3 separate regions of the Homo sapiens genome follow, and all the other regions are linked to region 1. Evidence: promoter capture Hi-C in 16 types of primary human blood cells and fetal thymus (Javierre and others, 2016). All regions are on one chromosome and are shown on one strand. Each heading gives the region's core, a stretch centred on a gene start or on the middle of the fragment in contact. The rest is flanking DNA. Distances are from core to core; before and after follow the strand shown.

Evidence for each region. The method cuts DNA at HindIII sites, captures the fragments that hold promoters and counts their contacts. A CHiCAGO score of 5 or more calls a contact.
Region 2: a fragment that was not itself captured here is called in contact with the fragment with the promoter of GALNT16 in region 1 in 2 of 17 cell types (M1 macrophages and M0 macrophages); the score reaches 6.5 in M1 macrophages.
Region 3: a contact is called between a fragment that was not itself captured here and the fragment with the promoter of GALNT16 in region 1, in 4 of 17 cell types (M0 macrophages, M1 macrophages, M2 macrophages and 1 more). The highest score is 6.2, in M0 macrophages.

What each region holds. Positions count from the first base shown.
Region 1 is chr14:69,258,268-69,261,733 of GRCh38, forward strand. GALNT16 (polypeptide N-acetylgalactosaminyltransferase 16) reads left to right here and starts at 1,891. Exons shown (of 15, transcript NM_001168368.2): 1 at 1,891-2,200. The coding sequence starts at 2,024. GALNT16-AS1 (GALNT16 and EXD2 antisense RNA 1) reads right to left here and starts at 2,260. Exons shown (of 4, transcript NR_184249.1): 1 at 2,023-2,260. RefSeq lists a silencer at 2,937-2,996. The HindIII fragment of the contact is 12,811 bases long and covers 1-3,466 here.
Region 2 is chr14:69,489,476-69,492,941 of GRCh38, forward strand. The region is part of intron 1 of PLEKHD1 (pleckstrin homology and coiled-coil domain containing D1); the gene reads left to right. Among named protein-coding and RNA genes, the nearest start is that of PLEKHD1, 6.5 kb to the left of the region's middle. The HindIII fragment of the contact is 1,350 bases long and covers 960-2,309 here.
Region 3 is chr14:69,444,910-69,448,375 of GRCh38, forward strand. All of the region lies in intron 3 of SLC39A9 (solute carrier family 39 member 9), which reads left to right. Among named protein-coding and RNA genes, the nearest start is that of PLEKHD1, 38 kb to the right of the region's middle. The HindIII fragment of the contact is 4,573 bases long and covers 1-3,466 here.

The DNA.
Region 1 (3,466 bases), core at 641-3,140:
TCTTATTAAACTCCCCAGGGGAGAGAGACCTGGGAGAGCATCTGGCGTCTCCAGACTCCTGCCCCTGTTGTGACTGCCACACCTTATGCCTGAAATTCCCTGCTACTTGTGTAGACCCTTTGTGAGGCCCTCTTTGTGCATTCTCTTCTTTCTAGGTCCCATTCCTGCGTGGGTCACTTTTGGACTTGTCTAAGTGTCATCGTAATTAGTCTTCTGAGTGAGGATATCGTATTGCAGTAATGACCCTGGGTTTTCCTCAGCAAAAACCCAACTAGGGTTTCTTCACCTCAACAGAAATGTATTGAGCATCTATTATATGTGCGGTTCAGTCTCGAGTGCTGGAGAAATGGAGAAAAGCCACCTGATTTTACTTCTATCTGTCAGGGTGGTGCTCATGGGATGCTTGTGGGGGGGCATGATGCTGTGACTTCAGTTTGCCTGATTCCCCAGATGGCTTCATTTAGAGGCTGGACCCTATGTGGGTCTTCGGAGTAGCCATGGTGTCCAGCAGTGCCAGCAGGAAGCAGACTCCTCAACAACTCTGCCCCGGCATTCAAGGACCTCCTGAGTTCAGACTCACCCAGCCTGGCCAACCTCAACTCCTATCAAATCCTAGGCCCCCTGCAACGCCTGGCAGCTCTCTCTCTTGAACACATCAAGCTCTTCCATCCTCTGGATTTTTGCAAGGCCTATTTCTGCAGTCTCTCCCCTGTCCTCACCTCCCCCTTCCTTACCTCTTAAGTGATTCATCCACCTTTCTGAGAGCTTTCCCAAAGGCCACCTTACAATAAATTATTTCTTCCTCTGTTGGATCCCTACTTTGTTGTTACACATCTATTCATTGAGCGCTCTGTGCCCGACACTGTGCTGGTTTCCTAAAACTCATCCAAGCCTCTTGCTTTCTGCCTGGAGTGAAGAGTAGTTCACGTTCTGATTCTCAGTGCCTCTAGGGCTGGAGCGGAATCTTAATGTCTGTGTCCTCGTCTCTCACCACCGCGTTTTGCACTTTGTCGAAAGGTGTCAGATGGTGAGATGGCTTCTAGACTGGGCTCTGCCCACTAATTAGCTGTGTGGCCTTGGGAGAATCATCCGGCCTCTCTTGCTGCCCTTCTTTCCGATGAAATAATGCTGACGATGATATTTCAGGGTTGTCCAGGGGTCAATGAGGCGGGATAGAGGGAAGCATCGTGAAATCTGGGAGCCCCAGGCCAGCGAAAAATGTGGAAGGGCCGTACCCGCACTCTCCTAGCACTGGGTGTGAGGCAGCGTCGTTTCCCCTTCGCGCTCTTCGAATGTCAAGTGCACCAGCTTCCAATCCCTCCTCTGGGCGGGCCCGGTCTGGCTAATCTCAGCTGCAGATTCCAGTACAAACTCAGGACTCTCCCCCGCCCAGCCGCCCCTACACAAGGACTCGCCGAACACACCTTGAATCCCGCGCCAGAGCGCAGCCCGGAACTGCAGCTCGCGGCGCGGGCCCAGGTCGGGGGTCGCGCGTCTCCAGTCGGTGACTCAAGGCCGCTCGGTCCGGGGGTGGGTGTGGGTCGGCAGGACCGACCAGGGCCGCGCGGGGGCAGCTGCCGGGCGTTCGGTCACCTAGCGGTGGGAGCCGAGGCTGGCTTTGGCCAGTCGCCATTCCGCCGCGGGCGTCTGTCTCGCCGGGTTCCCGGGCGCGGGAGGAAGGCCCGCGCCGCTTCCCACTCGGCGCGCTTCTCTCCCAGTGCGCAGTGGCCTGGTGGGTCAGCCGGCGGCGGCTGGAGCGCGGGGCCGGCCCTGCGCACGAATGAATGGGCGCCCGGGGGACGCGCGCGCTCGGGGCTGAAGGGCATTAGGACCGTGAGGATCGCTCCGCGATCCTGTCTCTCCCTATCACCCCCCCGCCCCCCCACCTCTCTCCTTTTTCTGCTCTGCAGGACTGAGCAGCTAGGCGCGAGCGAAAACAAACAGCTGGGGCTGCGAGCGCCCCCGCCCCGGCCCCGAGAGCACGCCGGCCCAGTCCCCCACCTGGGGCGCCCGTCTGCCCACCATGAGGAAGATCCGCGCCAATGCCATCGCCATCCTGACCGTAGCCTGGATCCTGGGCACTTTCTACTACTTATGGCAGGACAACCGAGCCCACGCAGCATCCTCCGGCGGCCGGGGCGCGCAGAGGGCAGGCAGGAGGTCGGAGCAGCTCCGCGAGGACCGCACCATCCCGCTCATTGTGAGTACGCCCCGAGCGTCGGCCGGCCGGCTAGGGAGCCGCGGCGCGCGTCCAGACCCTGCGCGGCGGCCGAGGGCGCGGGGCCCGGCCAGGGCTGAGTGCCCGCTGCGCCGGGCCGGCTTTGTATATGTTGGAGCATTCCTGCCCGTTGTTATGGCAACCTCTGCCGGGCGGCGGGGCTGGGGCGCACCGACTAAGGGAGGGTGACAGAGGGTGGGGGCTGGGAGAAAGTGCTGCAAGTTTGGTGGGCCCGGCGTGCGCGCGCGGCTGGGAACGTGGCGGCTCTCCCGGCTCTGCGCTGCCGGGGCCGGGAGTCTGGGGGCTGCGGGAGCCTCGTGTGCCCCGGAAGGCTGCCGGGCCCAGCGCGCGGCGAGCGGGCGGTGGGAACCACTCGCAGCCGAGCGCGTAGGTGGCAGTGCGCAGCCCCTCTCCAGCCTTCTGGGGGCAGAGGACATCGGGTGGGGGCGTGGGTAGGGGAAGGCTCTCTAGGCGCTGCGCCTGGCTTCGAACCCCCTTCTGAGCCGGGTCAACTTGAACCCGCTTCTTCGGCGCGGACACCCAGCTTCCCCGGAGTTCTCTGGGTTGAGGAGAGGTCTCGCACTGTACGCGTCTCTCACTCCCAACCTTAGGGTCCGCCACCACGGGTAGGTGGGCAGTGTCAGCGCCCGAACTTGGCGATACCCTTGCATGAAGTCAGCCTCGCGACATCTAAGCGGGCAGGGAAACAAAGGCAGTGTGGCACAGCGGGGGCGGCGGCGGGGCTGCGGGGGCCCTTGGCGCTCTGGGGACCCGGGCGGGGGCGTGCGGAGCCGCAGCCGCCCTGCAGGGGGCGATCCTGTCGCCGTCTCCGTCCGAGCCCCAGGTGACAGAGCTGTGCGTGGCCAGGCAGGGGCACCTGTTGAGGCGGGAGGCTTTGGCACCCGCCGAGAGTGCGCTCGAGCGGGCGCATTCTTCCAGACGGGGGCGGTTGGTGGACGAGAGCCTCGGACGACCCTCGGGAACTACCAGGGCGGGGCAGCCTGGCCGGATGAGGACCAGGAAGAGGAGAGCCGAGTGGGGCGGGGGTAAAGGAGTGAGGAAGCGTGGCGATTCCGACAAGGAAAGATCTGGGCCTGGGGGTGGAGGGGTGAGGAGATCCGCGGGGGAGGTGCAAGGTCCGGAGGGCTGAGGCTTGTGTGGAGCCGAATCCGAGAAACGCATCCAGACGCGGATCTGAACCCCAGGAATATCGGGAAGTTCATTGGAGAGTGTCCCCTCATATTCCCA
Region 2 (3,466 bases), core at 385-2,884, 230 kb after region 1:
TCGAACCTAGGAGGTGGAGGTTGCAATGAGCAGAGATTGAGCCACTGCACTCCAGCCTGAGGGACAGAGTGATACTCCATCTCAAAAAAAAAAAAAAAAAAAAAAAGGAAAAAAAAAGAAAGTGAATCTAAGCTTAGAGGCAGGTGCTCCAAGTTCCAGCCCCAGCTCTGCCAGTAACCAGCTGCATGATCCAGGCTGTGGCATTTCACCCCACTGGCCAGCAGTGTCTCATCTATAGAGTGGGAATGGGATGGGTCAAACTGTGTGCCACAAATGACCCCAGAGGTGCCTTGAGTCTACCACAAGGGAATGGGGAACAGGGGTACAGCTCCAAGACTCCCCACCCACTTCAAGCAATACCTCTGCACTGTTATATATATTTTTTGTTTGTTTGTTTGTTTGTTTGTTTGAGAGAGAGTCTCCTTCTGTCACCAAGGCTGGAGTACAGTGTCGTGATCTTGGCTCACTGCAACCTCTGCCTCCCAGGTTCAAGGAATTCTCATACCTCAGCCTCCCGATTAGCTGGGATCACAGGCATGTACCACCATGCCCGGCTAATTTTTGTATTTTTGAGTAGAGATGGGGTTTCGCCATGTTGGCTAGGCTGTTCTCAAACTCCTGACCTCAGGTGATCTGCCCGCCTCGGCCTCCCAAAGTGCTGGGTTTACAGGCATGAGCCCCCTGTTATATGTTTTACACCAGCAGTCCCCAACGTTTTTGGCACCAGGTGCCATGACTGGTTTCATGGAAGACAATTTTTCCAAGGACAGGGGTGGGTGTGGGGGTGGTTTCATCAGGCATTAGATTCTCATAATGACTGTGCAACCTAGATCCCTTGCCATGCACAATTTACAAAAGGGTTGGTGCTCCTATGAGAATCTAATGCCGCCGCTGATCTGACAGGAGGCGGAGCTCAGGCGGTAATGCCAGCCACGGGGAGAAGCTGTAAAAACAGATGAAGCTTCACCTGCTCATCTCCTGCTGTGTGGCCCAGTTCCTAACAGGCCATGGACTGGTACTGGTCCAGGGCCCAGGGGTTGAAGACTCCTGTTTTACACATTACGGTTGTCTTACTGTTGTTGGAATACTTGTTCCAGGGGGACTAAGTTTTTTGAGCCCCCTTGGACTTGATAATCTCTCTGAACTCTAATGTGTCATGACTCATGCATTTCACAGATAGAATTCCTGCTGTTCTGCCATCTTAGACTGGATGCCAGATGAGAAGCACAGGCCAGGATGAGCATTTCCTGAGCACACCAGGCCATCCAGAATGGACACAAGGGACACACACTGGGGCTGTGTCATTTCTACCTTCCTTCTGCCAGTTCTGAAAAGGACACTTCTGAGGGCAGTCCTTCTCCAGTTCCACCCCCTACATAGCCATTCTCAGTATCCAGGAGGCTCGGAGAGGAGGGAGACTGGCTGCTGGGCCTATTCTGGAAGTTTGTGCCCGGGGAAGAGGGAGAAGCCAGGCTGGATGTTCGCCTTCCTGGAAAATGTAACTCATGTGTAACTCACACATCCACTAGGCTCTTGCTGCTCTCTTGAGAGTGAGATAAATTTGGTCCCAAGACCAAATCCCATATCTAAAGGAAGTCTAAAATCTGTACCAAGGTTTCTGTTAATCTCTAAGAGGCTGTAAACTAGTTTCTTGGTTGATGGATTAATTTGCTGACCAATGTACACGGTCCTTGTTGCACAACCAGAGGTGGAACTCAGCTTTTATTCCTCAGTTTTCCAGCCTTCCACACTGCTGCATAAACACAGCAGGTATTTATGAGTCTAGCAGCCTATCCTGAAGGGAAGCTGTGGCAAAGAGGAGGGCAGAGGAGGTATTTAAATTACAGAATTGCAAACATCTTCAAATTGAGCGTTAGGTCTCTGGTAGGCACCCCACCTCGCTGTCACCAGAGATGGTGACATCACTCTCTCTCTGGACTCTTGGATCCTCCCAGGATCCTCTCTCCTCTGCACTCTGCCATCACTCCTCCTCCCTATTGTCCTACAGGATTTTCCCCAAATTCAAATTTCTTTCACTCTGTTAAGCAAAGCCCTTTCTAGCTCCTACTCCTAAACTCAGTGGCATTCGCATCTCCAAACATTAGGGAGCTCACCTGAGTGGACAGAGACTGGATAGGCCTTTGTTTAACAGGACCTGCCCAACATAGAAGATACCTGTGGTTCTAGATAACATTTTCCTTGGCTCCAGATGGGCTTATCATGAGGCAGTGGTGACCATCAAGCTCTGGTTGAGCCCTTGTTGCATTCAGAGCACTGGGGAGGGGGGCAGAAGATGGGGACAAAGCTAAAGCTTGAGAAAACCCTTCTTGGATTCCCTAATTCATATTGGATGGCACCTGTGCCACTCTGTGACCCAAGCTAGAGTCCTGGTCATCGTGTCATCCCAGTTCCTGCTCACTCTGCCCTTGTTTAACATTTCGATGAGCCTTGCTGATTTGTACCTCCCAATAAATTTAATTTTCCCTTTGCCTGGTTGTGGACTTCCCTATGGCTAAAACTACAATATGACCTTATAAGTGCCCTGTTTGAAACTTGCTGGCAGCTCCCCTTGTCTGCAGGAAGAAGTCCAGCGTCTTCACAAGGACTACTCACTCTGCCCCGCTCTGTCCCTGCTCTCTGACCTTAACTCACTCCTTACCGCACCTCCCCTGCACCACTGCCCACCCTTTGCACTTTCTGCCAATAATACCAGAGATATTTTTATAACTTTGAACACACTATTCTTTGCCTATGCTGTTCCCTCTGTCTGGAATGGATCTCTCCCACTTCCATTTCCTTCCAAATTCCCAAGATACTCCTATTCATTCTTCAAAGCCCTGCTTAGTTGTCACATCTTGGGGAGCTCCCTTGGCTGGACCCCTAAACCATTGATTCCTCCCGGTCTTCACTCTTCCTATACCTAATATAAACTTACAATGTTGCAATATATTGTGGCACATTACAATGTTGCAGTCTACTCTCCTGGTGTGTTGTAAAGTTACAGTGTACTGTGGTATGCTACGATGTTGCAGAGTACTTCCCTGGTATGTTACAAAGTTAAAGCCTACCCTGGAGCTTTACAATGTTGCGGTGTATCCTCTTGATGCTTTACAACTATCCTAGCTCCCCCATTCCCAGCTATGTGATCTGGGGCATTATTTAATTTTTCTATGCCCCAGTTTCCTCACCTACCTCATGTGAGGAGTTGAATGAGTTAGCACAATGCTGTTACTAGAACAGTGTTTAGCACCTAGCACAAAGGAGGAGCTTGATAAACATTAGGTGTTTTGTTTTTGTTTTTTAGGGTCTTTTGAGACAGGGTCTGGCTTTGTGGCCCAGGCTGGAGGGTAGTGGCATGATCACAGCTCACTGTAGCGTCGACCTCCTGGTCTCAAGCAATACTTCTACCTCAGCCTCCCAAGTAGCTAGGACCACAGGCACGAGCTACCATACCCAGCTAATTTTT
Region 3 (3,466 bases), core at 622-3,121, 190 kb after region 1:
GTGAGCTATGATCGCATAACTGCACTCCAGCCTGGGAGACAATGCGAAACCCTGTCGCTCTAAAAAAAATAATAATAAAAGAATAAAGATTCAGGTATCTGTGAACTGATAGGGAGAGATTTCCAGGAGGTATTGTTAAATGGAAAAAAAAAAGCAAAAAATGTAATGATCATCTAGCATATACTATGTTTTATGTAAGAAAGAAGGGGAAATAAGAAAAACATACAGTTGACCTTTGAACAATATGAGTTTGAACTGTGTGAGTCCATTTATACATGGATTTTCTTTCAATAAAAGTTACACTGAGTGTGGCTGCCTCTCCTGCCCCCCTTCCACCTCCTTCACCTCTTCTACCTCTGCCACCCCTGAGACAGCAAGACCAACCCCTCCTCTTCCTCCTCATCCTCCTCAGCCTACTCAATGTGAAGATGATGAGGATGAAAACCTTTATGATGATCCACTTCCACTTAATAGTAAATATATTTTCTCTTTCTTATGATTTTTAAATAACATTTTCTTTTACCTAGCTTACTTTTTTGTAAAAATACAGTATTAATACATATAACAAATAAAATACGTGTTAATCGACTTTGTTATCATTAAGACTTCTGATCAACAGTAGGCTATTAGTGGTTAAGTTTTTGGGGAGTGAAAAGTTGTATGTGGATTTTTGACTGTGTAGGGGGTCAACACTCCAACATCCACATTGTTCAGTGCAGTGGTCAAGTGTATCTACTTACCTTTACAAAAAAGAAACAGAAGAAGAACTGGCTAGAAAACAAAAGACATTTATTAACTGCATGGGGTGAGGTGGAGGAGTTGAGAGGGCAAAAGGGTTTTGGGAGCACATGATATTCCCCTGAGCATGCCTTTTTGGTATAATTCTGACTTTTGGAAACATGTTAATGTTCTACATATTCAAAAAATAGAATGAAACCAATATGGATGGGAGCGCTAACTGAAACAGATGAATTGTATTTCAAGTGAATAATACAATCACACTGAAGGGATTTAACAAAAACTAATTCAAGTAAATTATGAATGTAGTATTTGACTACATATGTTTAGTCTTGGGTAGAGTTGGGAGAAAACCATAAACAAATACTGAACTCGTTGTTGTTGTTGTTGTTGTTGTTGTTTGTAATGGAATGGGCAAAACAGTTCTGAAGCTGCTTTAGATGTTTTATAGGATTGAGTCAATGGGTCATGTTGATGTTGGTGGAGTCAGGGTTCTAAGTGTGGAAGAAGGAACACACAAGTATGGAGTGGAGGAAGGCAAGAAAGAACCCCTATAGGGACTTATTGGAATTGGAAGTATTGGACTCGGGATTTCTAAATGTATTTGGTTTTGTATATATATTTATATATACATATATATATATATATGTCCTAGCTCTGTCTGAAGATGGGGCCTAGAAATAAAGACATCCCACTAGCATGAGCAAGCCAGGGCCTTTCAGAGAAGACTCAGGGCTGATTCCAGGACAGGGGCAGGGTAAGTACAAGTGAGCTTGGAACATCTAGAACTGAAAAAAACAGAAGGAAGGAAGAAGATGGGAGCATGTCATAGGATATAGGAACCCTCTTAAAAGGGTTCCCACTGGCCACATGTGGGATAAGTTGAGCACCAACATAATTAAGAACAGTAATAAAGCATAAACCATTCAAAAAATGGGAATCTGGCTGGGCGCGGTGGCTCACACCTGTAATCCCAGCACTTTGGGAGGCCTAGGCGGGTGCATCACCTGAGGTCAGGAGTTCAAGACCAGCCTGGCCAACATGGTGAAACCCCATCTCTACTAAAAATACAAAAATTAGCCAGGTATGGTGGCACACGCCTGTAATCCCAGCTACTGGGGAAGCTGAGACAGGAGAATTGCTTGAACCCAGGAGGCAGAGGTTGCAGTGAGCCAAGATTGTGCCATTGCACTCCAGCCTGGGAGACAAGAACTAAACTCTGTCTCAAAAAAAAAAAAAAAAGAAAAAGAAAAAAAAATGGGAATCCATGAGCCCATCTGTGATATATATATATATATATAGAGAGAGAGAGAGAGAGAGCGAGAGAGAGAGAGAGAGCACTTGCTTATAGTAGAATGCTCCAATTATTAAATGTAGAAAGAGTGCTGGAGTTGGAAAAATACTCATTTTTGCAACCCTCCTTAAAGGTTGGCTCAGGCACGCATCATCAATGAATGTTAAATGTAGGGGGCAAATTTTTATTTCCTTATTGGCTTCAAGGGGAAAGAAGTAACTAAATGAAGAAATCAGATGATACCTTGATCGGATAGTCAAAATTAAGGTCACAAGCATTCTGCTTTTGATATGACCAAGTAAGCTCTCAGATCAGCCTCCTTACAGGTAACTAAAAATGCTGGACAGAATTCAAAAAACCAGTGGAGAGCAACCCAAAGCAAGCAAATTCTGGAAGGGAGTCAACACTTAGAACAGGGTGCATTTCCTATTTTTACTGCTTTCAGTAGTCAGCCCCCTGTGGGACAGCTAAAACTCTGATAGAAAACTCAGTCTTTCTGGACTGAAGAACCAGAGGACAGAGTTCAGGAGTTTCAGTGGTTACAGCACTGAAAATAAGGGAGAATCCTAGAACGAAGAGAAACTCAGCCCCAAATTCTGTATATGAACTGCCTCGGTCTCCAGCTGACCCTGAACCATGCTTGGCAGACTCCAGGTAGCTCAGCTGAAGATAATTATGAACTAAACTGGGCTGGATGCAGTGGCTCATGCCTGTAATCCCAGGACTTTGGGAGGCCAAGGTGGGTGGATGGCTTGAGCCCAGAAGTTTGAGACCAGCCTGGGCAACATGTCAAAACCTTTTTTCTACAAAAAAATACAAAAATTAGCTGGTCGTGGTGACCTGCGCTTGTACTCCCAGCTACTTAGGAGACTGAGGTGGGAGGGTAGCTTGAGACCAGGACAGGGAGGTTACAGTGAGCCAATATTGTGCCACTGTATTCTAGCCTGGGCAACAGAGGGAGGCCCTGTCTCCAAAAAAAAAAAAAAAAAGTGATGGGGCACAGTCACTCAGGCTTGTAATCCCAGCACTTTGGGAGGCCGAGGCAGGTGGATCACAAGGCCAGGAGATCGAGACCATCCTGGCTAACACGGTGAAACCTCGTCTCTACTAAAAATACAAAAAAATTAGCCAGGCGTGTTGGCGGGCGTCTGTAGTCCCAGCTACTCGGGAGGCTGAGGCAGGAGAATGGCGTGAACATGGGAGGCGGAGCTTGCAGTGAGCCGAGGTCACGCCACTGCACTCCAGCCTGGGCAACAAAGTGAGACTCTGTCTCAAAAAAAAAAAAAAAAAAAGCACAAAAAAAAATTAAACTGAAAATTGAGCAGCAACCCAAAAGACATTTTGCAGTTTTAATCCAACCAAGCTACTTAAAGCAAAACAAACAAAAAAGTCACTCTTTGGAGGAATATAACAAAATCTGACTATCCATGAGAT